Linked DNA regions of Homo sapiens: all the other regions are linked to region 4. The links are contacts of gene promoters, found by promoter capture Hi-C in human tissues and cell types (Jung and others, 2019). All regions are on one chromosome and are shown on one strand. The core of a region is centred on a gene start or on the middle of the fragment in contact, and the rest is flanking DNA. Distances in the headings are between cores, read along the strand shown.

Region 1 (3,742 bases), core at 1,091-3,590, 1.1 Mb before region 4:
ACAAAACCAATTCATTTATTTTAAAATGGCTTCCTGATTTCCATTAGTTTCCCTACCTGCTTTTCATTAGATAAACTACCTATATTCCACTGGATATAATCAGGTTTATTTGGAGCCTGGGACATTTGTAGAAAATCTGCATTGAGTATAGTCTGATGAAATAGAGAGAGTGCCTTTATATGCTAAACAGGAGAAGAATTTCTGTAATATAATCAAGAAATCTGGTGTGTTGACTTCTGCTTGGTTAATCTGTGAAGCCAGTCACACGTATATGTTTGGTTGTATTCAGAAAAAGCGATAACCAGGTAGTTGGCTGTACATTCAAGGCAGAGGATGTTGCTGAAAGAGTGAAGTAATAGAGCACTGAATTTCAAGTTAGCCAAAATTCTAGCCTCTGTTTCTACAGTGGTCAGGAAGCAACTTCTCCTCGATTTTCTATTTTCTCAGAAAACATGGAGTTGGATGACATGATTTCTCTGGGTCTCTTCTTCTAAATATGTGTAGATTATCCCTCAACATTAGCAGGAGGGCAGCTGAGACGTCACAGAACCAATTCAATCATCCCAGGTGCTTGAAGACCAACTGTAGCCCCCGAAAAAATGCAGCAAATCAGACTTCCTCCAGGTTGAATTTATGCTCATGGTAGCTTCTTCTTCTGTGTTGCTCTTCCTAACAGAGAACTCTCATTCAATTCTAGGTACTTGGCTGGAAATCACACTTTAAGGAGATAAAGTGCTATGACACCAGAAGGGTGTTATTGTTCAAATCATTTAAGGGACGTAACTGTAGCTAATTAACAGGACTCCTGCAAGGGTGGTAGACTCTTTCTTCCTTAATTGTGGACATTTGTTTTCTTTAGTTGAAAGCCTAGTTTAAATTAGTTTTGTGGTAGCGATATTACACCATGAGTGCATATGGATCTTGGATTTCTCTAAGACCCAAAACTGGAAGATCTCATTTTAGGACATTACTGAGAGCCCTACTTCATGCTTCCTTTTAATAGTTGGCTCTTTTTTTTTTTTTTTTTGGATGTAGAAGTCATTGGGTTTCTGATTATTTCATTCAATATATTAATGGCATCTTGTAGCATTTTGCCATATGCACATTGAGCATGTCCAGTTGTGTTCTTGATTCCAAACCACCGTTTTATAGCATTAACCTGTGACATGTATGTGAGTTAACCTCTGATATGCAGTCCCCTAGGGCTATAAATTTCCTTAAGTTAGAAACAGGCTATTTCTGTCTGCTGGCTGCCACCTGGAGAACTCAGTCTTAAAAATCTACTGCATTGATTCCCTCTAGCCCCTCCCAATTTGACATCTGACTTCCCTGTCCCTGTAATTCAGCAGCACATGGCTTGTCCTTTAATACAGAATTGAATTGAGTTGGCTTTTGACCAGTGTGGCCTGCCTTCCAGTTAGTACACAATAACTGTAAAAAATGGGTAATTCTCTTTGATTATTAAAACATTTTTGGGCTTGGTGGAGATCTCTTTCATAGTCTCTGGACAAAAAGATGATTGCAAGGGGAAAATTCTACAATAGAAAAACTCTTGGTTTTGACCAATTCTGCCAACTCTACTCTGTGTGCTTATTAGCAAGTCACTCATATTCACTAAACCTCAATTTCTTCAGTTAAAGAAAGTAATAATATTGATGTCAGTCATTGACCAAGGATTAGAGTAAATGGTTCTCTTTTCAATGGCTTTTTCCTCTTTATTCTTTTCTACTTTTCCAGCTATTTTCTTTTATTTCTCTTTTTGTCTTCTTGGTTTTCTCTTTATACTTCATCTTTTCCTTTTGTTTTTATGTTTTGCTTTTATTTTCTTGCCTCATCTGTACTAAGTACCATATCTTCCACTCCTCTAATGACCATGATGTCTTCTCTGTTTCTACCTAGCATCCTTTACCCCTTTTCTTATTCAGTGCATTGTGTGTCACTTGAGGGATTCCCCCTATACCAAGGGTTTCCAATTTTGGATACCCTGGGCCACATTGGAAGAACAATTGTCTTGAGACACACAAAAAATACACTAACACTAACAGTAGCAGATGAGCTGAAAAAAATATGAAAAAAAAAGAGAAAAATCTCATAATGTTTTAAGAAAGCTTACAAATTTGTGTTGGGCCACATTCAAAGCCATCCTGGGCTGCACGCAGCCCACAGACCATGGGTTGGATAAGCTTGCCCTACACCATAGTACCATGGAAAGACAATCAAGTTGGCCTGACCTCTTCCAGAAAACGGGTGGGCTGGGTGTCCAAGCTACATCAATAAAATGCTTTCTCCTTAAATGGAGTGGTACAAATGCTGAAATCCCATCATAGATTTATCTCATCCATGGTGTCCTGAAATAACTGTTCATTGGATCCTTCCAACTAGATCCCTAGACCAATTCTGGAGCTCTTTTTTCTCTACAGCTAATTATTTAACTTTTATTTTGTTTCAGCAAGCCAGAGAACTATTATATATATATATATATATATATATATATATATATATATATATATATATATATATATAGTGTATATGCTTATGTAGCTTACCTCTATTATATATATATGTATACACATTTGCTTATGTAGCTTACCTCTGAAATTCCCTAAATAATTCATTCTTATTTTTTTTCACCAGAAGTGTCTCCCCTATCCCAACAGCAGATACTAAACCCTAGCGTATACTAGAAATATACACACAGGAGCATGCTATACAGAGCAAAAACAGATGTCAAATGGTATTTGCAAGTCCCCAGCTAGTGTGGGACCCAGCACAGCTTTACCCTGGATGCCGCTCTTCTCATGCCATAAAAGCTGGCTCCAGTTACTGGAGTAATGGAGAGAGCATGTATAGGGGGAATCTAGTCACTGCTAAGTGTTCTCAGAGACCAGGCACCAGAGATGGGGTTCTTCTGGCTCATGGAGCATTGAAACCTGACTGCTCCTTCATTCAGATTCACTTTTTCACAAAGGCAGATGGGATTGTTTTTAGTGTCCCTTGAGCTTCCTTTTCTCAGAGTTGTCAGTTAGCACCTCCATATTCTGCTGAAGCTTTATTCTGTGAATTCTGTTCTTCCACTTTACACACACACACACACACACACACACCTTTAAAGTTTATTTTTCTCCTAACCCAATAAAAATATCAAGAATTCTGGGATAGTGGAAGCTCTCACTGAAATTTAAACTCATGCAGATCTAGCTCTCAATATTCACATTTTCCTTTGGTGATACGCATGGACGCCATTTAACTCTAGCTTCTCTATGCAAGACTGGCTATCTCAGTATCAGGCAGCATGGGTTTTAGTCACTTAATTTCACTGAGCTGTATTATATACCTATATACTTGTAAGGATATATACTTGTAATGGAGAATTTAAATGGATTGTAAACCTAAAGAACAGAACAGGGTGATTTGGGAAACTCTCCTTTACCAACTCAAGAGCTCTTCATCTCTATTGTTTACTTTTCCCCAATTTAAAGAGAATAACAATTTCTAGTACAAAAGAATGAAACAGCATCTTCTTGTTGGTGACAAGCATGTAAAAAACGTATGCTAGCCTATTGCACATAAGCAATAATATGACTGCTCTATAAACTCGTTGCCTGAAATGGTCTAGGAAAATTGAACAATAAATATATCACAGTGATGGTATTACCATCACATCAGGATCTTATTTATCTAGGGAAACTGTTAACAGCTCTGTGCTTAGGACAGAAGTTCAAAAGAATTTGCCTAGAAAAGA
Region 2 (3,930 bases), core at 32-2,531, 1.5 Mb before region 4:
GATAATATCAATTTCTTTATTTCTTTTTATCAGAAAGCTTCATTACAATTTGGAACAGCAATTCCAAATTGACAAAGGTTGGCTTATCTTAAAGACTGGATTAGACTATGTTTAAACACAGATATAGAAGTATTTCTAGCTTTAACCTTTTACATAAATAATTTCTAAAGTGATTTTGCATCTATTATTTAACAGATTCATTTATGCACAAACAAACCTAAGAGTTAAGCAAAACAGATTTTAGGATTTCAGGTGGAGGTCAGAGAACCTAGGTTTGAATGTCACAGGTTTTCACATACGTTTAATGTCTCGATGTTGGGAATTCTCTTAAAGTTTAATGGGCATATGAGAGAGAAGTGTAGGTTGCAGTGTGCCAATCATTTGCTCATTTCTTCAAACACAAATGTGTCAGTAACTGGCATGAGGTCTGAGGCTCACAGTCCCCGAGAGAGAGGAAGACAAGTTCAGCAATAGCTATAATAAAAGACAAAATGTAGAGAGCACCATTAGGAAGTTATGGTGTGTTTTGGGAGTTCATAGGAGGAATATAATGCATTAATTTTCTTGTCAGAATATCCCAGTGGGTTTTGTGGGCAGCTGTACTCAGCTCAGCTGGTGTGGGCAGGGAGTCGGGGTGGGGAGAAGAACAGACTTAACTGCTGTCTGTTGTTCCAGACAATAAACCCAGAACTTCACAAAGATTGTCCTTGTCAGATGTTGAGGGCAAATGTCTTTGCTTTTACAGATGTACCCATAGGGTCAAGCTCCAGCACAGAGACCCATCCTGGGATGCAGGACTTGGTGCCAGGGAAGTCCCAGGTAAACCAAATGAGTTGGTCATCCTACCTGGGAAGTGTGTGACCTAACATAAGTTATTCTGTGTACCTGCTCAGATCTTGAAGAAGCTGACAGCTGGAAGCTGTCTGCTAACACTTTCCTTTACCTGGGAATCAGGTCCCTCCCTAGAATGTGGTCCTGGGGCAGTGCATCTCCAGGACTACCACTTTTACCTTTGCCATAGTTATTATACCCATTTCTAGAAAAAGAGATTAGTCTCAATAAATTTCAGTGCCTTGCGTGAGGATTAGGGATCTCTAACATCAAAATTTGAGCCTGTGTGTATTATCTACGTAGATAATTCTTGTTCACTCCTTTCAGTTTCTTTATTGTAATTGGCTCTGAAATTCTTAAAAGGGTCAGTGGGCCTGTCTTCAAAGATAGCATCAAGGAGAGATTGAGGGAGGTAGGAATATTCTGCCTTGTCCAGCTTAAGGAAGAGGGATCCTGGAAGAGCAGATAGGTGGCAAAGCTTTAAATAGGGATGGTGAGCACCACAACTCATTGGGTCTATGGCAAGAAAGGAGCTGAATTCTGGACCTGGCTTGGGAGCACTGTTAGCCCTGAGAGCACGTTTGTTGCAAGGCTGTGTGTCTCCATAGGCAGCTTTCCTCCTTGCTTGTATTCTTGAACCCACATTTTATAAGCCAGCAGTGAGCATATGCTGAATGCTGTGGAATTGTTTATGAAAAGCTTTCCCCTCTTTCCTAGAGAGCGAAAAGGTGAAAGGGGATCTGTTAATAGCAAGAAAAGGAAGTGGTTGAAGTGCATTCCATGATTCCTTGGCCTTTAAGCCTGAAGAAGTTAAATAATTTGATGCACAGAGCCTGACTACAATTCTAATGAGCAAGCTGGCAGAGAAAATTAATGATAATAAATTAATTCCAGAGAATTCCATTTTATGTGCTCAATTATTAACGGTATTGCAGTGTTATTAATGGTGTCAATTATTAATGGCATGAATAATTAAGAAAGCACATCCATGTTATGATGTACAAGGCTTCTAGGGTTGGGCAAATTGCTCAGAATAAATAAATAAACATGTCAGGGTTCAGACCTATAACATGTTTCAGGACCCAGCCTCCAACATGTTTCCTGGAAAACACGGGTACATCTTTCATCAGAGGTCTCCGTTACAGGGACTCCTTCCCATGTCTTATATCACGATAGTAACAAGAAAGAGGTTTGGTATGAAGGACCATATTTCCTTGGCATTCTGATCTTCCAGGATGTCTCAATTCATCCACTGGGTAGACACTGACTGAAATTGATGACCATAAGAAACTAGGTGTGAGATTAGGGAGGGCTGTGCACATTTAGTAAATCTAAGAGGGCTGACCAGGTAAGCTAAACATGAGTAGTTGGGACTGAGTTTAGTTTGCAAGACAGCAGCAACATCGAGCAGGTGTTATCCCAGCCATTGCAACCAGATTTGAGGAATGGTAAGCAAAAACGTGGGAGGAAAGTATGGTTTCAAATTGGACAATTTATTGGCTATGTGAATGAGTATCCTACAATATCTCTCTGTGCCTCAGTTTTCTCATGTGAATAATGGGGATGATATTTATGCTGAAGGCTGTTTGACAAAATGAATGGATGGGATATAACAAGGTCTCAACAAATAACTTTTATTATTGTTATTATTCTTTTAGTTATTGTTATTATAAAGATCTTCTAACCTAACTTGCCTGCTTTATAGGTGAAGAAATTGAAGGCTGAATAATACATGTGACTTGTCACTAAGTTTGTGTGTAGGATATCTTCCCGTTCCCCCCCCAGATTGCCTATTTGCTCCATTGGCCCTCTTTTCCAGGAGCCAACTTCTATGCATGCCATTGACATGGCTCAAGTGCTTATTAGGTTTTGCCAATAGGGTGACTCAACAGAAGATAAGAAAGAAGGAAGAAGATGAGGTCGGGGTATTTATTTTCTTGGCTCCTTCCCTGAGGGCTCCTATCAGTTGGCTGTGTATCTCTGCGGAAGCCTACAGGTACCCTCAAAGCAGCTGACAGTACATGATTTTCTTTTTTAGGGATCCTGAATGATTCCTTTCAGTCTACAGATGGTAGCAAGTTCGCAGTTAACAGCTCTGAGCTATTGAACCATTCTTTTTTGAAAAGTGTGTATCAAATTATCCTACTTTGAGTATTTCTGATAGATGCAATAAGTGAGACGGCACTGGTGTCCAAGACTCTTTGTTCTTGGTGCACCATCTTTCCCACATATCACTTTATTTCATTCATATACTCTCTAAATTATTTATGAAGAATAAGGCCCTTTGCTGGGTGCAGGAGATATAAAAATCTCCAAAACATGAGAGCCCAATCCTCTGAAACACCATGTGATGGTACTCCAATGCAGGGGTTAGCATTTTTTTTTATAAAGAGCTAAATAGTACATATTTTAGGCTTTGAGCTGTATGTCTTTGTTGCAACTACTCAACTCTGCGATTGTGCAAAAGTGACCTTAGGCAATACATCGACAAATGAGTATGACTATGTACCAATGAAACTTTATTCATGGCCACTGAAATTTGAACTTTATATAATTTTCACATAGCACAAAACATTCTTCCTCTTTTGACTTTTTTCTCCAAACATTAAAAAATGTGAAAACAATGTTTAGTTTTTGGGCCACGCAAAACCAGGCAGCAGGCTAGATTTGGCCCACAAGCTATAGTTTGCCAACCCCTGCACTAAAATATGAACTTAGCACTAAGAAAGCAGAGTTAAGGAGGCCAACAGTTGGGAGGAGGAAGCTGAGAGAGAAATCATAGAAGAGGTGACATTTGCAAGAAGAATTGATGGATTATGGAGTTTGTTTGGTGGAGAAGAAGGGAAAGTGTCTGTAAGGCACAAGTGATGAGCAAAAGCAAAGAACCATAGAAGTACAAGATATTATCAGGGTTGGGGCCTGAACTGGTAAGGCCAGAGAAAAAGGGCATGGGGGTAATGGGGAGAGGTCACCTTGGCAGGGGCTTCTGAGCTACATGCTGGAGGACCAGAATCCCTGCTGAGAAATTGGGCTTTGGAGGTAGAGAAGGTGGGAGGTGGGGTCTTGGGCTGAAGCATTAGGCAGACCTGAACACAATCC
Region 3 (4,021 bases), core at 1,139-3,638, 1.3 Mb before region 4:
TAAGGCATGCTTCGTTAATTGCAGCTGCTTTTATGTGTGCCAAGTTTTTTTTTTTTACCACATGCACTAACTTAAAATGCAGTAGCTCAAAGGACACAATTTAAAAATATGTTTACTATTTACAACCAAAGCTGAATAACCAAAGAAAATTATTCTAAAATTCCATGTGATATTTTTGAAGAAAAAAAATAATTAACCTCAGAAATTGCTTAAGGAAAAACAGTAGTCAGCTAGAGCTTTGCAAGCATTTCCAAATTGTATCAGGTCAATCATTTAATAGTGCCTTTGAATATGTTTCATTGTCATAAACATAACATAGTTCATTCAGTCCATTAGTTACACATTTTAATACCTGTATTGAGATATAATTTACATGCCACAAGATTTGATTATTGTAAGTGAACAGTTCAGTAAATTTTAGTAAATTGATTCAGTTGTACAATCATCATCCAAGTCCAGTTTTAGAACATTTCCATTAATGTAGTTTCCTTGTGCCTATTTGCAGTAAATCCCCATTGCCTCCCCTAGGCAACTATTGATAGACTTTGTGTCTCTCTAGATTTGTCTTTTCTAGAAATTTCATACAAATGGAATCACACATCTGTAGTCCTCTGTATCTAGCTTTTTTCATTAGCATAATGTTTTTGAAGTTCATGTTGTAGCATGTATCAGTGCTTTGTTTCTATTGCTGAAGAGTATTCTATGGTACCAGTATAAATTTTTAAAATTCATTCTAATGGGATTGCTTCCACTTTTTGGCTACTATGAATAATGCTGTGATGAACAGTGTGACTCACTTTTGTGAGATGTATTTGTGAGCAGAAAGTACTCCCTTCGCTTTGACTTTGAAATCATTCATGTGACATACCTTGGTCAAAGGGATAGTAGCAGATGAGATGAAAACATAGATGTGCTTGCTGGGTTGGGGTTAGGGTTAGGTCTCTCTCTTGCACCTCTGTTATCATCATAAGAAGAGTTTTCCAGGCAGCTATTGCCCTTTCAGACTGGGCCTAAGCATGAAAACATGTAGACAAGACCTGAGTCCAGACCACAGTGAGGAGCCAAGCCCGGACTCACTCCCATTCTGAAACAAAGCTGTGTAGCTGAGCTCAGTTTAGGCAGTTAATCCCAAACTTGATGGCAGAAGTATGATGGGTAATAGTTGTGGCAAGTCAATGTATTTTAGGGTGGTTTATTATGCAGCCGTATTGTAGCAATAACAGATGAATAAAGAAGACATGCGTAATCTGGCTACTTCTGCCTCACCAAACTTATTTCATACTATTTTCACTCTTCTAGTCCTAGCCACTTTGATGTTCTTCTAGACATTCAAACTTAGCATCTGCATGCCTTCCTCAGGTTCTTCTTTATGCATGCTATTCCCTCTATTTGGAATATTGCTCCTCTTCCCCCTTGTGTAATGAATCTCCACTGAACCTTCATACCTCGATTTAAATATCTTTACCTTGGGAAAGCCATATTCGCATTTTCTGAGGAACAAAATGCTCCAAAGCCCAGTAGTTTAAAACACCAACTTATTCTCATGAAACTGTAGGTCAACAACCTGGACTGGGCAGTTGTTTTGCTTGGCCCCTTGGATCACTGATGCAGTTTCAGTCATACAGAAGATTAACTAGGAATAGACAGTTTACGTTTCACTTCTATGGCATGTGCTGGCTTTTAGCTGGGTCATGTGTTTCCAGCAGGCTAGCCCATGATTCTTCACATGGGTGCAGGGTCCCCAGCAGCAAAACAAAGCAAATCCCAATGCACAAACACTTTTCAAGTGACTGCTTGCATCACGTCTCCTAAAGTTTCATTGGTGAAAATAAGTCACATGGCCAAGCCCAGAGCCACTATGGGAAGAAATTACCCAAGACATACATACAGGGAGGCATGATGCATAAGAGGCCTACAGTCTTCTCTTTGACTCCAGTGGTTCATTTTCCTCTAACATGCCAAATAAATTAACACCCTAGGGAGAGCCCTAAAATGTCATTCAATCATGATATCAGACCCAAAGCTGTTAATCTCATAATCCACATTAGGTCTAGATACAGATGAAGCTTCTTGAGGGTAGCTCCTAGGCTATGATTCCCATTGATTCAGACATGACAAATGAAAAGACAAGTTACCTACCCTCATATATGTAATATACAATGATGAAACAGGAACAAAACATTCATAGTACTTTCATTCAAAAGAGGAAGGAATGGGAGGCAAATCATAAAATAAATCATAAAATAAAGCCAAGTACGTGTTGTCAGGCCCCCTACTGTGGTTTTGCTCATGGGATTGGATCTATAAACTACTATTTGCCTGTGCTCTTTTTTTAAATTATTATTTTATTTTATTATTTTAAGTTTCGGGGTATATGTGCAGGATGTGCAGGTTTGTTACATAGGTAAACATGTGCCATGGTGGTTTGCTGCACCTATCTACTCATCACCTAGGTGTTAAGCCCAGCATGCATTAACTATTTGTCCTGATGCTCTCCCCCACCCACAGCCCTCCCCAGACAGGTCCCAGTGTGTTTTGTTCCCCTCCCTGTGTCCGTGCGTTCTCATTGTTCAGCTCCCACTTATAAGTGAGATCATGTGGTGTTTGGTTTTCTGTTCCTGCATTAGTTTGCACCTCATGCTATAAAAATTTTGTAAAGTAGTTATTTTCTTTTTCAGGCTGCCTCTTATCAAAAACAAAAATTTTTTTTTGGTAGGGGGAAGGGTCCAGAGGACGGTCTCAATTTCCTTTAATCTCAGATTGTATAACTTCCTTAAAACCTTTTTGGGTTTGCTATGTATCACCTTACATCCCTTTGTCTAGTACTCAAAATCCACAGCCAAAATTCTTTTTGGGAAAGCCTTCTCCCACTACATTTTAGGGCTGTTTTGAGATTAAGCTTCTATGGGAACATGCAATTAAGATTTTTAAAAGCAATTTTGTTTAGCTGAGAGGGTCTACTAAGTACAACTTTCAATCTTTTAGGGATCTTAACAAGGAGTTATATCAAATCACACTCTTGATTTGATCTTTAATCTGAGGCCATTTCTTACATAAGAAATCTTATTGCTATCTGGAGAGACTAAAGCTGTGAAACAGTTTTATTTTTCAATGTAGAAAATTCTGATTACATTACAATTCCTTTGAATATTGCTTGCAATCTCAAGAGTTCTCTCTTTAGCTCATCTCATGCTTCGCCAGCCTTTTCAGATGCAGCTAATGGAAGCCAATTGTCACTTTCAAAGTTCTTCCTGGTAATATCCTTAGCCAGATCTGCAAATTCATTAGGAATATTTTCTTTCAGCTAACTCAGATGACAATTTGACACTGCTGCATAACACAAATCAACTGTTTTCCAATTTCCAAAGGCAGTTTCCTTAGCACTTTTCAAGACCATAAAAAAGTTGTGTTCACTACTTTACAAGATGTAAATAACAGCTTTCTCACAACTTTTTCGTTCTCCACCTACTGTCCATTCCCAAAGCTCATCACTCCTGTTTTAGGTTTTATGACAGCAGCACTCTTCTAGGTATTTTTTCTATGTCAATTAGCCTTTGCCACATAGCAAACCATCCCAAAGCTTATTGACTTAAAAGGATGACCATTCTATTTGTTCATGACACTTTGGGTCATAATTTGGGCTGAGATTAGCTGGATAGGTCTTCTGGTCTCACCTGGGATCATTTATGCAGCTGCAGCCATTGTCATCTCAAATTCAGCTGAATGATTTGATTCTATGCAGCCATAAAAAAAGAATGAAATCATGCCCTTTGTGTTGCTATAACAAAATACAACAGATTGGGTAATTTATAAAGAACAGAAATGTATTTCTCACAGTTATGGAGGTTGGGAAGTTCAAGATCAAGTTGCTGGAAACTTCATTGTCTGGTGAGGGTTCTGTCTCTGCTTTTAAATTGATGCCTTGAATGCTGCTGCCATTGGCATTAGGACATAAAGGGATGAACTCCCTCTGGCAAGCCTTTTTATAAGGGCACCCACTCCCATTCATAAGGGTAGAGAC
Region 4 (3,742 bases), core at 697-3,196:
GCGCAGTGCGCGCCACAGTCCCGAACCTCTCCCCTTGCAGAGCTATCCCCTAAAGCGGCTGGGTGGTCTTGGTGGGGGAATAAAGGGAGCACCCTTTCACCCCCTTTGGACAGTCCCCTGCTATCTCGGAGACGCACTTAGTGAACCAGCGGCTTGGTGCCCGCCGAGCCCCCGCTCCCCCGGGAGCCCGGAGCGCAAAGCCCGGGAGTCGGCCCCGCAGCGGCAGAGGAATCGAAATCGGCCCTGGCGCCCTTAAGAAGCCGCGGGAGGTGGCGGTGAGGAAAACAATTTGCCAAAATCCAAGGCACAAAGTTTTGCGCCACCTGAAGGAGAAGGCGAGAGGCGCCTGGGCGCTAGCGGCTGCGTGAACCCCGCTCCGCGCCGGGGCCCCTCCGCTGCGGCTGTTCCCACTCGCGCCCTAGCCGCTCTCCTACCCCCGCCGGCACCGCAGCCCCTCCCAACCTTCCCTCTCCACCGCCCCCGTCCCCACCCCCAGTACCGCCCCCGTCCAACACTCCTTTTGCCAGCTTTTCTTCTTTCTCTCGCCGGCTGGAGTGGCGAGCTCAGCCGCGGGCTTTAACACCCCTCCATAAATACAAGGGGGGTGTCAAATAATAATAGGGGCACCTCCCTTCGCACTCAATACGGAGATGCAACTGCGCCAGAGACCCCGCTGCGATACCTCCCCCGGAGCCACCCCACCAAGGGTAGCAGCTGTTCTGGAACCGCCCAGAGCCCCGCTCCTCGCAGTTCCTCCGCATCTCGGGCGCGAGGACACCCGAGGGCGGCCGCGGCAGGGGAGTCAGGGCTGGGTGCGGAGATTCGCCCTGGTTTTTCCAAGTCAACGATTCCAGGAGAATCGGACACATCCTCGCCTCCCTTTTCCCCTGCCTGCGCCTACCCAACACCACGTCCTAACACCTCTAGAGACCCAGGTTTTAAATTGTATTATTGCTTTTTAAAAAGCCAAATGCCAACTTCTTAAAAGGATCAGGGCGGGTTGGAATCGCCGCGGGGACAGGCGGGCGGGACGCGCCGCAGTGTCCGTCTCCGGCTGTCAGAAATGCGGTGAGCCGAAATTTAAATGCCCTCCCGGAGACGGGGACAAGTCAGCGGCTGCGGAGCGATCTGGCTCACACAGGCGATATGCGGTCCCTACTCCAAGGAGCTCAGGATGCAAGGGGCTTTCTGCCCACCGCAAAGCAACCCCCAGCCCCCCAAAACCCAGAGAGCAATTAACACAATAAAGCAGGAATGTCCGACCGGCCGGGAGTCAGCGTGAATATATTCATAAGGCAGAAATCTCGAAAGGGTAGTCTTAAAAACCATTCCCGTTTTCCCTCTGCCTTCTCCTCTCCCATCTTGACAAGTCACTTTACCCCGATCCAGTTCTGGATTACCCCCCACCCCAGCCCCAGTTACCATAACTACTCTGAGAAAAGTGTCAATAGCGCAGGAATGGGAGAAAAGACACCCTATTTAGGCATTCGACTCATCTCAGCATTAAAGTGATAAAAAAATAAATTAAAAGGCAAGTGGACTTCGGTGCTTACCTGGTTTTCCACTACCCGAAAAAAATCCAGCGTCTAAGCAGCTGCAAGGAGAGCCTTTCAGAGAAGCGGGTCCTGGCAGCGGCGGGGAAGTGTCCCCAAATGGGCAGAATAGCCTCCCCGCGTCGGGAGAGTCGCGTCCTTGCTCGGGTGTTGTAAGTTCCAGTGCAAAGTGCCCGCCCGCTGCTATGGGCAAAGTTTCGTGGATGCGGCAAGGGTTGCGGACCGCTGGCTGGGGGATCAGCGGGAGGGCTGGGCCAGAGGCGAAGCCCCCTATTCGCTCCGGATCTCCCTTCCCAGGACGCCCGCAGCGCAGCTCTGCTCGCCCGGCTCTTCCACCCTAGCCGGCCGCCCGCTCGCTCCCTCTGCCTCTCGCTGGAATTACTACAGCGAGTTAGATAAAGCCCCGAAAACCGGCTTTTATACTCAGCGCGATCCCTCCCTCCGTTCTTTTTCCCGCCAAGCCTCTGAGAAGCCCTGCCCTTCTCGAGGCAGGAGGGGAGCCAGGGACGGCCGGGGCCCGGCGGTGGCGGCCGCGAGCAGCACAGCTCGGGGGTCCTCAGCCGTCCAGACCCTCGCATTATAAAGGGCCGGTGGGCGGAGATTAGCGAGAGAGGATCTTTTTTCTTTTCCCCCACGCCCTCTGCTTTGGGAACCCGGGAGGGGCGCTTATGGGGAGGGTGGGGAGGGTGGGGAAGGTGGGGAGGAGACTCAGCCGGGCAGCCGAGCACTCTAGCTCTAGGATGTAAACAGAGTAAGAGAGCCGCATGAATTAACTACGCGCGCCTACCATTTTCTTTTGCTCCCTCTCAAACCCTCTCCCTTTCTCTGCTGCTCCTCCGTAGCAGTACTGTTTGACAAACCGCATCCTTGTCCTGTGAGTATAAATCATCGCAGGCGGAACAGCTGCCCTCCACACCGAGAACGCACTGCGCGCCCACCGCCACGCCACGCGCGTACCAGGCTGCAGGGCGCCTCGCTAAGGCTGGGGAAAGGGCCGCGCTTTGATCAAGAGTCCCAGGGAGAGTGGAGGAAAGAAGGGTATTAATGGGCGCGCGTTCAGAGCGTGGGATGTTAGTGTAGATAGGGAGGAATGATAGAGGCATAAGGAGGAAAACGATGCCTAGAATGATTAAAATAACCCAGCAACGCATTGCCACGTATACTTGGAGAGCGCGTTATGAATAAACTCCCATTGCATTTGTTGGGGGGAGTCATGTATTATGCATTATGTATGCACAGCTATCTGGATTGGATACCTTCCACCCAGACTGAGTCCCCCAATTTGCTGCCAAAGCAGCAGATACCGCCCCTCCTGCCCCGCCTGCTCAGGCTTCCGTGGGGCCCCGTGCGGGAGGCGTCTGTTTAGCCCTGAGATGTGTCTGCCTGTTCCAGAGCTGGGCTAGGGCGAGAGGGAGGTTGCCTGCTCTCTGCCAGTCTGTACCCCACCGTCCCACCCCCACGCCTCCCACACGGAGTTCCCAATTTCTCAGCCAGGTTTCAGAAGAGACAAATCCCCTTTGCGCCCTGTGGCGCCGGTTTGCAACAGTCTCGGGCTGCCGGGTTTGGGAGAAATCAAAGGTGCTAGACGGGAGAATATGGGAGGGGCAGGGGGTACCCGAACCGCGGGACCGGACTTCCTAAAAGGGGCAAGTGGAGAGCTTGTGGACCGAGCCGGGGGAGTCAGCAGAGACCCTTGTGAAAAAAACCGTTAACTCTTTCCTCCCCGGACAAACCGGACGTTTAATTCCTTTCCAGGTCCTCTTTCCCCTTTTATTATTGGAAATGCGGTCATGCACAAAAAATGCATCGATTCTGATCAAAGAAGAGGAGAGGAGTATTACTTCCGTGCCTTTTTTTGGGGGGGGGGGAGTCTTGAGCTAATTAAAATTTGGCTGCCTTCCAGGCATTAATTTCCTAGTTCACTGACTCACAATTTTTTCTGAATACTAGTGAAAGTGCACTGTATGTAACCCGCAAACGTGTATTCACATTTTATTTACGCTTCGACTTAGCTAGTTGCCCAGCCCCACACATGATTTGTTTGCTCCCTGAAATGATCTATATTTAATATATAATGTATATTCCCTCGGGATTTTTTATTTTGTGTTATTCCACGGCATGAAAAACAAAAAACATTCTTCTCATCCTTGGTCCCTCACCCAAAGGCATTTTAAGTAAACTTTTCTCTC
Region 5 (4,210 bases), core at 1,212-3,711, 1.2 Mb before region 4:
TACATAAAAATTGAGTTGAGTAATTAAAATAAAGACAGTAACATCTATGTATGGTTCATGGTAAGAAGGTATAGGGGATTGTGTTGAGATCGACCTTATCCAACATCTCCATAGCCTCAGCCAACATAACTCTCATTACCCTTAGGAAGGTGCTGCTGAGACCACTACTGTAATAATCTGACCTTCACTGTCGCATGTACTTGGCAGCAAGACTTTCATTGGCTAACTGAAGTCATAGCTTAGCCTCATAACTCATTTACCTCTATTACTTGTGGAAAGGTGGACCACGGGAACCCCCCTTGAACTAGGTCATATGTGCAATGATATAGGGGTCAATCTCCGCTGGGGATGCTCCTCAGAAAGCAATTGGAAAATAAGCATCTAAAACACAAAAAGTAACAACAGCTATCTCATAAATGTTCATTTGATTGCTTCTTTTAAAACATGCCTTTGAACTAGGTTATTGGTTCAGTTTTCTCCCAGTGAGGATAGTGGAAACTTAAAAAAAATAAAAAAAGAAAAGAAAAATAGGCAACGACTTAGAAAGCATGGTGAAGTGCCAACATTTATTCTATAGACAGAAAAGTTGGCCTCTCGCAAGTGTAAAATGTAAAGACAGCTCTTTCAGAAGTGAGATTGCTATGGAGCTACACAGTTGGGATTAGAAGGGCAGTATGCAGGTATCAATCACGACTGTCCAGCCAAGTATAACAAAAAGATACAGAATCTGCTGGTAAGAGAGAGTATGTGGGGGAAAGGCTTCATTTGAGCTTATAAAATATGGGTTGAGGGGTTTCCTTTCACAAGAACACAGGGAGGTGGCAGGTGGAGATAATAGACTTGAGAAACTAGTTCAAGAAACTGCAAGGGGCTCAGTCTAAAAGACCTATGTCTTGGCTTTTTGCAAGAGTTGCATGTCTTTGAACTTCACCCTGATGTAAGTATTGAACAAATACTCACACTCAACTTGGCAGGTTTGCTGGCTGCCCTCCTGTAATGTAATCACTTTGCAACTTCATACATTTCCCTAGAATCTCTGCAAAGGAAGGTAGAAAAAAGAAAACCCACTAGGTTATAGGTCCACTAAAGCTTCTCCACGCACAATGAAGAGAAACAGCATCTTTCTTTGACAGGAACACAGACTCGGGAACTAAATATATTTGGCTTCAAATATTACATCAGTGGAACACTGAGCTAGACTTCTGTCCTAATTCCTACTGTAGTTACAGAGATGATGCTACTTATCTTGCAAAGATTTTGCTAGGATTAGAGAAAAGTCATGTTAAGTACCTAGTGCACGTTTCTATCTACTATGTACACATAGAGTTGTGTGACTACCTTTTTTTTGTTTTATTCTGTTCTTGTTTTTCAGTGACTGCTGTAATGCTTAAAATAATTTGTGATCGCTCCCTAGCAATTTGGAAGGTCATTCTGAATCTTTTTCCTTTAAAAAAATTTTGTTTTCTTCTCTACCTTGGGCCAACTTACAGTAACTTGCTATGTTTTAAGGAAGCTGCTTAAAACATTTCTGCAACAAGACTGTGAATCAATCAATCATCAGTCAATCAACATATTATCATCACTATGAGAGATCCAGAAATTCCCACAGAAATAATCATCAGAATGACTCAGAAAGGATAAGTTGGATAGAACACTATTGGTAGAAGATTTATTTTCATTAAGCAATGAATTAAGCCATTGATTTTAAGATTTTGGAAATCATACTGATATATTAATGTTAATTACCACATGTAAGTATACTCAGATAATGGAGCCAAGAATCCTGGCTTGGGACATATACTCTTTACTTCCTGGAAATCCCAGAGAAGGAATTTTAGGATACCCAGGGAAGATGTTCTTTCCTCCACCAAAAAGCATTCCCACCTCCCTCCTCACTCCTCTGAGCCTATTTTATCCTGAGGTCTAGTCTCCTTTTCTCTAAAGGCTTTGGATCCTTGGCAACTGATCAGAGCCTTTCAGGCCTCCCTAGCAGGTGATTCAGGTTCAAACCACACAGACTAAATGCTTTTTATGTGGAAGGACCCCAAACTCAACTGGGGTCTTAGATTTCCACTCTGCTTCTTTCCAGCATTTCCTGGCCTTACGGGCTTCCTTATTTCTCATAGGTAGATGGGATCAAAGTCACAGGCTTTACTAAGGTAATCTACTGTAGTAATTGAGACCTGGGGTCTGGAACCAAATGGTGTAGCGTCCACATGGGCTATGTCATCTATTAGATTATGACGTGATAGCTGACAACTCATTCAACTGGTCTGTGTCTCAGTTTTACGTTCATAAAATGGGGTTTGTGATCATCCTTATGTTAAAGGAGTGTTGTAAATTGAATAGGTTAAGCCATGTGTAGCATGACACTGAATCCTCTCCATTCTGCGTCCGCAGACTGTGGGCAGTAAATACAATAAAGATTCTATGTTTCTCTTTTGTTATAATTTCAAATTTTATTTTAGATTCAGGGGGTACATATACAGTTTTGTTACATGTATAGCTGTATAAAGCATATTTTGAATGTGGAGTTTTGGGGTATTAATGATCTTATCACCCAAGTAGTGAGCATAGTACCTAATAGGTAATTTTTCAACTTTTGCTCTCTCTCTCTCACCCATCTAGTAGTCCCAAATGTCTATTGTTTTGTTCCCATATTTATGCCAATATGTATCCAATGTTTAGCTCTCACTTATAAGAGAGAACATGTGGTATTTGCTTTTTTGTTCCTGTGCTGTGTTAATTCACTTAGGATACTGGACTCTAGCTGCATCCATGTTGCTTCAGAGGGTATGATTTTGTTCTTTTCTATGGCTGTGTAGTATTCCATGTTTTCTACCTACCACATTTCCGTTATCCAATCCACCATTGATGGTCAGCTAGGTTGATTCCATGTATGTTATTGTAACTAGTGCTGCAATGAACATACTAGTGTGTGTGTAGTTTTGGTAGAATCATTTATTTTCCTTTGGGTATATATCCAGTAATGGGATTGCTGGATTGAAGGTTAGTTCTAAGCTCTTTGAGAAATCTCCAAACTCCTTTCCACATGGTTGAATGAATTTACATTACCACCATTTGCTTTTATTTGCAGCCTCTGCAGCATGTATTATTTTTTGACTTTTTAATGATAGCCATTTAACTGGCATGAGACAGTATCTCATTGTGGTTTTGACTTGCATTTCTCTGATGATTAGTGATATTTAGCATTTTTTTCTATGTTTGTTGGCTGTCTTCTTTTGAGAAGTGTCTGTTCATGTCCTTTGCCCACTTTTTAATGGGGTTGTTTTTTGCTTGTTGAATTGTTTAAGTTCCTTGTAGATTCTGGATATTAGACCTTTGTCAGATGCAAATTTTGTGAATACTTTCTCCCATTCTGCAAGTTTTTTGTTGATGCCCATGACAGTTTATTATGCTGTAAAGAAGCTCTACAGTTTAATTAGTTCCCAGTTGTAAATTTTTGGTTATGTTGTAATTGCTTTTGATGACCTCGTCATACTTTTTTTTTCCCCAAGGCTGATGTCCAGAATGGTATTTCCTAAGTTTTCTTCTAGGATTTTTATAGTTTGAGGTCTTACATATAAATCTTTAATATACATTGAGTTAATTTTTGTATATGGTGAAAAGTAGGGGCCCAGTTTCACTCTTCTGCATATGGCTAGCCAGTTATTCCAGCACCATTTATTGAATAGGGAGTCCATTCCCTATTGATTTTTTAAATCAACTTTGTTGACCATCAGATGGTTGTAGGTGTCTGGGCTTAATTCTGGTTTCTCTATTGTGTTCCATTCATCTATATGTCTATTTTTGTACAAGTACCATGCTGTTTTGGTAACTATAGCTTTATAATATAGTTTGAAGTTGGGTAATGTGATGCTGCCAGCTTTGTTCTTTTTGCTTGGGATTTCTTTGGCTATTCAGGCTCTTTGGGCATTCTATATTGGTTTTAGGAATTCTATATTTCTATATGATGATCAGAGTCACATCTTTGTTAGACAGAGGCAGCAGGGAAAGGGCGAGACACTCCCCTCATTCTGAGCACAATGCTGTGGAAAGAGTATAGAGTTTCTAGTTAGATGGATTATGGTCTGCCCTTGGTTGCTATGGAAGCTGGAAAAGATACTTGACACCAGTGTACTTCATTTTTTAACCTTGTAAGTAATTTGTGGCTCTTAAATGAGATAATGTAAATGGGGTTCCTTGCATA
Region 6 (4,202 bases), core at 631-3,130, 1.8 Mb before region 4:
ATCTTTTGTGGTTCCATATACATCTTAGAATTGTGTCTATTTCTGTGAAGAATATCCTTGGTGTTTCAATAGAGATTGCATTGTTTGTAGATTACTTTGGGTAGTATAGACATCTTAACAATATTGATTCTTCTAATCCTTGAACATAGAATATCTTTCAAATTTTTGTGCCCTCTTCAATTTCTTACATATATGTTTTATAATTTCTGTTGGAGAGATCTTTCATTTCCTTGGTTAAGTTAATCCCTAGGTATCTAATTTTATTTGTAGCTCTTTTAAATGGGATTACCTTCTTGATTTTTGTTTTCAGATTGCTGTTGGCATATAAAAATGCTACTAATTTTTGTACGTTGATTTTGTGCCCTGAAGCTTTATTGGATTTGTTTATCAGTTCTAATAGTATTTTGGTGGAGTCTTTAGATTTGTTTCAAACATAAGATCATATCATCTGCAAAGAAGGATAATTTGATTTACTTGTTTTCAATTTGTATGTCCTTTATTTCTTTATCTTGTCTTATTGTTCTAGCTAGGACTTTTAGTATTATTTTGAATTACAATGGTGATAGTAGATATCCTTGTCATAGTCCAGATTTCAGAGGAAAGTCTTTCAGTTTTTCCCCATTCAGTATGATATTAGCTGTGGGTCTGTTATATATGGCTTTTCTTTTTAAATGTATGCACTTAATGCTATATATTTTTTCTCAGCATTGCTTTAGCTGTCTACAACAAGTTTTGATATTCAGTATTTTAATTTTTATTCAGGTTAATGAATTTTTAAATTTTCCCTTAGATTTCCTTTTTGACTCATGGCTTATTTAGAAGTATATTGTTTATCTGTATGTCTATCTATCTGTCCATCCATTATTTATCATCTATCTATCTTTTTCTATAATTTACCACAGTCTGCTGATACCATCACTTCACCAGTTTAAGCAATGTGTAGAAACATTACCTTCCTTTTTGTTCCTTGGGTATTTTCCGGTTACCTTCTGTTACTGATTTCTGTTGTATTCCATCATGGCTGGAGAATACATTCTGTATGATCTCAATTCTTCTACATTTGTTTTATGGCCCAGGATGTGATCTATTTTGGTATGTGTTCTATGGAAACTGAAAAATAATGTGTATTATGCTTCAGTTGGGTGGAGTGTTCTATAAAGGTCAATTAGATTATGACATTTGATTGTGTTTTGAATCTACTATACTTTGATAATTTTCTATCTAGTTCCATCAATTTTTGAGAGAGAGGTGTTAAATTATTCAACTATATTTTTAAATTTTTTTTTAATTCTATTAGCTTTTGCTACACATAATTTGCAGTACTGTTGTCTATATACTTTAGGATTGCTATGTCTTCTTGCTGAATTGACCTTTTCATCATATAATGTCCCTCTGTGTCTATGATAATTTGCTTTGCTCTGAAGTTTACTTTATCTACTTTATCTGATATTGATATAGTTACTTAAGTCTTTCTTTGCTTAGTTTGTAGATCTTTTTTATTCTTTTAATATTTATATATGAAGTGAGTTTCTTGTAAACAGCATATAAATGAGTTATGTTTTTAACCCACTCTGCCAATCTCTTTGAATTGATTTATTTAATATAATTTACATTTATTTATTTATTTTTTTTGAGACAGAGTTTCACTTTTGTTGCCCAGGCTGGAGTGCAACAGCCCGAACTTGAGTCACTGCAACCTCTGCCTCCCAGGTTCAAGTGATTCTCTTGCCTCAGCCTCCCAAGTGGCTGGGATTACAGGTGCCTGCCACCACACCTGACTAATTTTGTATTTTTAGTGGAGATGAGGTTTCACTATGTTGGCCAGGCTGGTCTTGACCTCCTGACCTCAGACTATATACCCACCTCAGCCTCCCAAAGTGGTGGGATTACAGGCGTGAGCCACCACAGCTGGCCTAAAATTTACATTTTGTAATCACTTATATTGTAGTGCTTATTACTAGAATTTTTTTTGTTTTCTGTTTTTTACATCAGTTTTTCAAGTTTATACTTGCTTCTTGCTTTTCTATAGTTACTTAAATACTTTTTAGAATTCCATTTTGATGTATAGTATTTTTGAGTGTTTATATAGCTTTATTTTGTTGTTGTTGTTTTTTATTTTTGAGACAGGGTCTTGCCTTGTCACCCAGGCTGGAGTGCAATGGCCAGATCTTGGCTCACTGCAACCTCTGCCTCTTGAGTTCAAACGATTCTCCTGCCTCAGCCTTCTGAGTGGCTGGGATTACAGGCGCCCGCCACCACACCCAGCTAATTTTTCTAGTTTTAGTAGAGATGGGATTTCACCATGTTGGCCAGGCTGGTCTGGAATTCCTGACCTTGTGATCTGCCTGCCTCATCCTCCCAAAATGCTGGGATTACAGGCGTGAGCCACCGCACCTGGCCTATATAGCTTTTTAAGTGGTTACTCTAGGTATATTATATTATAAACATTTCTTCCACATATATTGAGACCTATATCAGAGAGCTTTATAATTTTCACTTCTACTATTAAGCATAACTTTAGAGAACTCCAGAGTGAAGTGACAGTCCATTGTATTTACCTATATTTTTGCCTACTGTTTTCTTTTTTCTTTCTTAATGTTCTTTTTTTTTAAAAAAAATTTTTTTTGAGAGAGTCTCACTCTGTTGCCCAGGCTGGAGGGCAGTGGTGTGATTTTGGCTCACTATAACTTCTGCCTCCCAGGTTCAAGTGATTCTTCTCCCTCAGCCTCCATAGTAGCTGGGACTACAGGTGTGCACCCCCATACCTGGCTAATTTTTGTATTTTTAGTAGAGACGGGGTCTCACCATGTTGGCTAGGCTGGTCTCAAACTCCTGACCTCATGATCCATCTGCCTCAGCCTCCTAAAGTGCTGGGATTACAGGCGTGAGCCACTGTGCCTGGCCTCTTTCTTGATGTTCTAAGATTGATTGTTTAATCATTTTCTTTCTGTTGAGAGAACTTTCTTTAGCTATTCTTTTATGACATGTCTGTTGCTGACAAATTCTCAGTTTTTCTACATCAGAATGTCTTGAGTTCCCCTTCACTTTTGAAGTGTATTTTCCTTAAATATAGGATCTGGTTTAACAATTCTTTTATTTCACTTAACAAATATTGTTACATTTCCTTCTGATTTCCATAGTTTCTGATAAGAAATATACTTTCATTCAAATTCTTCCCCATGGGTAAGATGTCATCCTTATCACCCTGATTTCATTATTTTTCTCTGTTTTAAACTTTCAGAAGCTTTACTGTGATGGCTCTTGGCATGTATTTTTGTGTGTTTATTTTGTTTGCAATTCACTTAGCTTCTTGAATCTGTAGATTTATGCATTTTAACAAATTTGGCATGAGGTCATTATTTCTTTGAACTTTTTTCAGACACACCCCCTTTTTCCTTTTCTTTCAGAACTCTAATGACATGAATGTTAAATCTTTTGTTATAGCCATACAGGTCCTTCAGGTTCTGATCTTTTTAAAAAAATACACATTATATATTTTGTCTGTTATTCAGATTAGGTAATTTCTGTTCTTTTGTGTTTAAGTTTACTGGTTCTTTCTTCTGTACCCACTATTATTTCATTGATTCCATTTATTGTATATTTTATTTTAGTTATTATATTTTTTGGTTCTACAATTTCTACTTGGTTCTTCTTTATATCTTCTATTTGTTTGCTTAATATTTATATTTTTTCACTAAGCATGTTTGTAATTTCTACTTGAAACATTTTTTAATGATGATCTGCTATAAAATCTTTGTCAGATAATTGTACCTCTCTGTAATCTTGGTGTTTGCATCTATTGACTATGTTTTCTTTTATTCAGCTTGAGATCTTCCTGGTTTTTGGTGTGATAAGTGATTTTTATTTAAAACCTGGACATATTTGGCAGTTATATTATGAGTCTTTAGTATTATTTAAAGCTTCCGTTTTAGCTGGTATTTTAGCTTGGGCTGCTACAACAAAGATACTGTAAAAATTCATTTCTCATAGTTCTGAAGGCTGGGAAGTCCTAGATAAAAGCTCTGGCACATTTGGTGTCTGGTGAAGGCCCATCTCCTGGTTCATACATGACCATCCTCTTGCTGGGTCCTTACTTGGCAGTTGAAGAAGAAAGCCCTTTCAGGACTTTTATAAGGACACTAATTCCATTCATGAGGAATCTACCCTCATGGTTTCATCTAGCCCTAATTACCTCTCAAAGA
Region 7 (3,903 bases), core at 262-2,761, 1.4 Mb before region 4:
TCCTTTTTGAGAAATATCGGTGCAATAGAGAAAGAGCTGATGGACAAAATTCTGAGTCCTGAGCTTGTTTTTTCACAATTACGGCGTAAGACCCTGGAAAATGAAGCCCTTAATTTCCTGTCCCTGAGAAATGGCATGAAAATAGTCTCTGCACAGGATAATTGTAAAAATTGAGATACCATATGCAATAAAATCCCATTGTCAGTAAGGTATAAATACCAGCTTTTCTTTTTTTCCTGTAGTCTTTCAGAAGAGAGAGCAAGCAATGAAAAAGGAGAAAGAGAATTAACAATCAAAATAAAAAGTCCGCTGCAAACGACCATAGTTTTATAGGTTGATCACTGGTTGATCTTCTGGAGGCCACATAATGTATAAAATATAATTTTATTGGTTCTAAATTTCTCTCTATGCTGTATTCCCTTTGTCCAGGTACTAGGCATATGTCATCCACTTGCCCAACTCAGCTTTTAACAATTAGATTGCCTTCCTCAATTCTCTTTATACAAGTTACAAACTACTAAAACCTGCCTCCATCTAAGCAGTGTGGTGTTTTGGAAATGAACCTGAATTTGAATCTCACGTTTTTTAACTTACTAGCTGTGTGGCCTTGGACAAGTTACTACAATGCTCTGAGCTTCAGTTTCTTCAGTTATAGCTTCCTTTTTACTTGAATGTGCATGAATCACATTCAAGTTAAAGGAATCACCGAAGAACCACAACTTGAAAAAGAATAGAACAGGCTGGGCATGGTGGCTCAGGCCTGTAAACCCAGCACTTTGGGAGGCCGAGGTGGGTGGATCACAAGGTCAGGAGTTCAAGTCCAGCCTGGCCAATCTGGTGAAACCCCGTCTCTACTAAACATACAAAAAATTAGCCGGGCGTGTTGGTGGGCGCTTGTGGTTCCAGCTACTCGGGAGGCTGAGGCAGGAGAATTGCTTGAACCTGGGAGGTGGAAGTTGCAGTGAGCCAAGATCGTGACATTGCACTCCAGCCTGGGCAACAAAAGCAAAACTTTGTCTCAAAACAAAACAAAATAAAACCAATAGAACCAAGGAAACCAAGGTAGCCCTGGGAATCTATTAGGAGACACTGAACATTGTTTAATTCAAGGCTCCAACACAGGTGTCAACAGGCTCTGACTTCTTCAGTTCTGTCTCACTTAGTTTAAGATTCAAATTCCTGAGGAAAAAAATCTGATTGGCCTAGCATCGGCCATGTGCCCATCCTGCCACTCTGACTGCCACTCTTAGACTTAGAGGAAAGGGTTGTCCTATGGAGAGAACTGCTTGTTAGTGACTTGACCACTGGACAGGCACTCAATAGACCCATGGTGAGCTGGCAGAAAGTGGGCTGCAGGAATAAGTACTGTGACCTTACTCTTTTCCAGCTCTTCCTATCTCTTACTAAATGCCTCCAACTGGCCAAAGCTAACTGGCAGCCCAGTGGCAAGGGCTCACAGATACGGCCTCTAAAATGTCAGGTTCATGGGCAGCACAGTTGGGTGAAGAAGGGTGAAAATGGATCTGAAGGGGTTAATGGTAAATACACAAAGCTTGTATTGATAATGTCCCTAAAACATCGTGGCAGTGAATCTCTTTCTCCCTTCCTGTTTAAGAAAAAGGCCCCAGTGACTTATCTTATCCCAGAAGGAAAAACTCTGTGTGCAATCCCTGGTCCAGGAAATTCCTAATAACTTGGAAGTGGCCAAAGCCATGAGTCAGTGGGTCTCTATTCTCTTTTTCCTTGGTTAAGTCTCGTCTTCAGCAAAGCCCCACTCCAGCTGTGAGGTGCCCCCTCCACCTACCCCACGCCTTGAGAAGCCTCATGGAGCCTGTGGGTGGCAGTTCTTCCTACGCTGGTGGCACTCTGAGCTTCTGCCAAGGTTGAAGGAAGCCACTTCAAAAGATACCACTGATAAATGGAATCAGAAGGGCCCTGCTTCCGCACAAACTGTTTCTAAGCACTTTTCACCAGGGCCCATTCTTGAGGCTATGGGTAATGAATGGGGGCCTCTCATCCAGGCAGTCATTTGTCAAGTACAAACTCATCCCTCAGTGTTAGGAATGTTGGGGACCTGAGGGGTTCCATTTGAAAAGAGGGAAAATATGGTTTCTTCCATGGCCTGCCTATGTGTTCCCTCTAATTCCTAGTTGCTAAGTAAGGTTGGAACACTTTTCAGTTTACTCTTAGAAGATAATTTATAATTTCTGATGCATTAGGCATAGATGAACTCAAGTTAAATTTATACTTTTCTTCCATCATTTCCAAACGAATTCAATTGCTATGATTCCATTGTTTAGGAAAACAAATAAAAATAGATACTTGTAGCAAAGGAGTGTTTCATTTTTGCAAGGGCAGCATGATACAAGGAAGCACTGAAACGGGGCTCCCAAACCTGGATAATAGTATTGTTTGAACTTGCAAAGCCATTTTTCCTCTTTGGGCCTCAGTTTCAACGTTTACAATGAGAGCTGGGTGGACAAGAAGGGGATGATTCAAACAGTCGCTGTGATCCAATATACAAAGAAGGATACTTCATAGCAGAAGTGCTGAAAAGAAATTATGCCTTCAGGAAGAAGCACATTGTGATCAGGGAGAGCTACAATGATTGGTGATTTGCTTTTTAAATTTCCCAAGTTGAGTTATGGATGCAAAAGAGTTTGCATTCCATTTTTCTTAATGCCTTTTTGTGTTTTAGTGTTTTGGTAATAAAGAAACAAAGATAGGCTGGGCACAGTGGCTCATGCCTGTAATCCCAGCACTTTGGGAGGCCGAGGAGGGTGGATCACCTGAGGTCAGGAGTTCACGACCAGCCTGGCCAACATGGTGAAACCCCGTCTCTGTTAAAAATACAAAAAGTTAGCCTAGCATGGTGGCACACGCCTGTAATCCCAGCTACTCAGGAGGCTGAGGCAGGAGAGTCGCTTGAACCCTGGAGGAGAAGGTTGCAGTGAGCCAAGATCGCACCATTGCACTCCAGCCTGGGTAACAAGAGCGAAACTTCGTCTCAAAAAAAAAAAAAAAAAAAAAAGAAAAGAAAAGAAAGAAACAAGGATATAAGACTGTTATTGTAGCATAGTTTTGTTTTGATCTCATGGTACCTACAGGTAGTATGTGGTAATGGAAAGAAACTGAGATTTCAGACCTAGGCTCCAATCCCAAAGTTGTTGAACCCTGCATTAAGTCCTGTCAACTATAAAAATAAAATAATAATACTTACTTCATAAGATTTCTTTGAGAATTAGAGATGAAGATGTAAAAGTACTTTATGTAAAAGTACCTTGCCTGTAGCAGGTATTCAATAAATGGGGACTCTCTTTATCTCCGTGTTCGTGCTTGTTCACATTTGCCTGATGATACTCAAAGATCTTGGGGCACCTGGGAGAAGAAGGCTTGGCTACATCGTGTTGATCTTGGCTAGCTGGTGTTTCTGCTGTTAGTATTGATCTTTCTTCTTGATAACAGTTAAGATTAACTGTGCCTCTGAATGACAGGAGCATTGTGAAAACCAGTTCCTCAAGGTGGTCTGAGAAATGGTGGCAGCAACATCTAAATCTTTGTAAAAGCCCGGTTTTTAAAATACAAACAAATTTTCATGGGAAAAGTGGGAGAGGAAGCCATCAGGGGATGGAATTGAGTCAGCAGAGGGTGTCTAAGCCAACTTAGTGACAAGATTCCCTCCTGTTAAAACAAAAAGGTAGCATAGAAGAGTGGGTCAGAGCATCAACTCTAGAGCCAGACTGTCCAGCCCAATTTTGAACTTTGAATTTTCATTTGCTGACTATGTGAGCTGGAGGAAGTTATTTAACCTGTCTTCACCTCAGTGTCTTCACTTGAATGATGGTGTCAGTAATCATGCCCAAAACTTAAAGGGTTGTTATGCCAATTCTATGTGTCATATGT

What was found. Contacts are between HindIII fragments. The study calls those that stand out against the background at their distance.
Region 1: a contact is called between a fragment that was not itself captured here and the fragment with the promoter of MYC in region 4, in 1 of the 25 tissues and cell types used here (H1 embryonic stem cells).
Region 2: a contact is called between a fragment that was not itself captured here and the fragment with the promoter of MYC in region 4, in 1 of the 25 tissues and cell types used here (adrenal gland).
Region 3: a fragment that was not itself captured here is called in contact with the fragment with the promoter of MYC in region 4 in 1 of the 25 tissues and cell types used here (dorsolateral prefrontal cortex).
Region 5: a fragment that was not itself captured here is called in contact with the fragment with the promoter of MYC in region 4 in 2 of the 25 tissues and cell types used here (H1 embryonic stem cells and spleen).
Region 6: a fragment that was not itself captured here is called in contact with the fragment with the promoter of MYC in region 4 in 2 of the 25 tissues and cell types used here (dorsolateral prefrontal cortex and hippocampus).
Region 7: a contact is called between a fragment that was not itself captured here and the fragment with the promoter of MYC in region 4, in 2 of the 25 tissues and cell types used here (aorta and hippocampus).

The regions. Positions count from the first base shown.
Region 1 is chr8:128,832,506-128,836,247 of GRCh38, reverse strand. No RefSeq gene overlaps it. Among named protein-coding and RNA genes, the nearest start is that of LINC00976, 130 kb to the left of the region's middle. The HindIII fragment of the contact is 3,977 bases long and covers 352-3,742 here.
Region 2 is chr8:129,251,311-129,255,240 of GRCh38, reverse strand. No RefSeq gene overlaps it. Among named protein-coding and RNA genes, the nearest start is that of LINC00977, 12 kb to the right of the region's middle. The HindIII fragment of the contact is 4,602 bases long and covers 1-3,582 here.
Region 3 is chr8:129,081,287-129,085,307 of GRCh38, reverse strand. All of the region lies in intron 1 of LOC124902023 (a long non-coding RNA gene), which reads right to left. Among named protein-coding and RNA genes, the nearest start is that of LINC00976, 120 kb to the right of the region's middle. The HindIII fragment of the contact is 5,866 bases long and covers 1-4,021 here.
Region 4 is chr8:127,734,435-127,738,176 of GRCh38, reverse strand. MYC (MYC proto-oncogene, bHLH transcription factor) reads right to left here and starts at 1,946. Exons shown (of 3, transcript NM_002467.6): 1 at 1,554-1,946. The coding sequence starts at 1,583. RefSeq lists a silencer at 2,041-2,230 and a cis regulatory region at 2,718-3,742. The HindIII fragment of the contact is 14,684 bases long and covers 1-3,742 here.
Region 5 is chr8:128,885,416-128,889,625 of GRCh38, reverse strand. No RefSeq gene overlaps it. Among named protein-coding and RNA genes, the nearest start is that of LINC00976, 78 kb to the left of the region's middle. The HindIII fragment of the contact is 8,069 bases long and covers 1-4,210 here.
Region 6 is chr8:129,501,616-129,505,817 of GRCh38, reverse strand. The region is part of intron 1 of CCDC26 (CCDC26 long non-coding RNA); the gene reads left to right. Among named protein-coding and RNA genes, the nearest start is that of MIR3686, 20 kb to the right of the region's middle. The HindIII fragment of the contact is 3,405 bases long and covers 178-3,582 here.
Region 7 is chr8:129,177,825-129,181,727 of GRCh38, reverse strand. No RefSeq gene overlaps it. Among named protein-coding and RNA genes, the nearest start is that of LINC00977, 61 kb to the left of the region's middle. The HindIII fragment of the contact is 7,709 bases long and covers 1-3,903 here.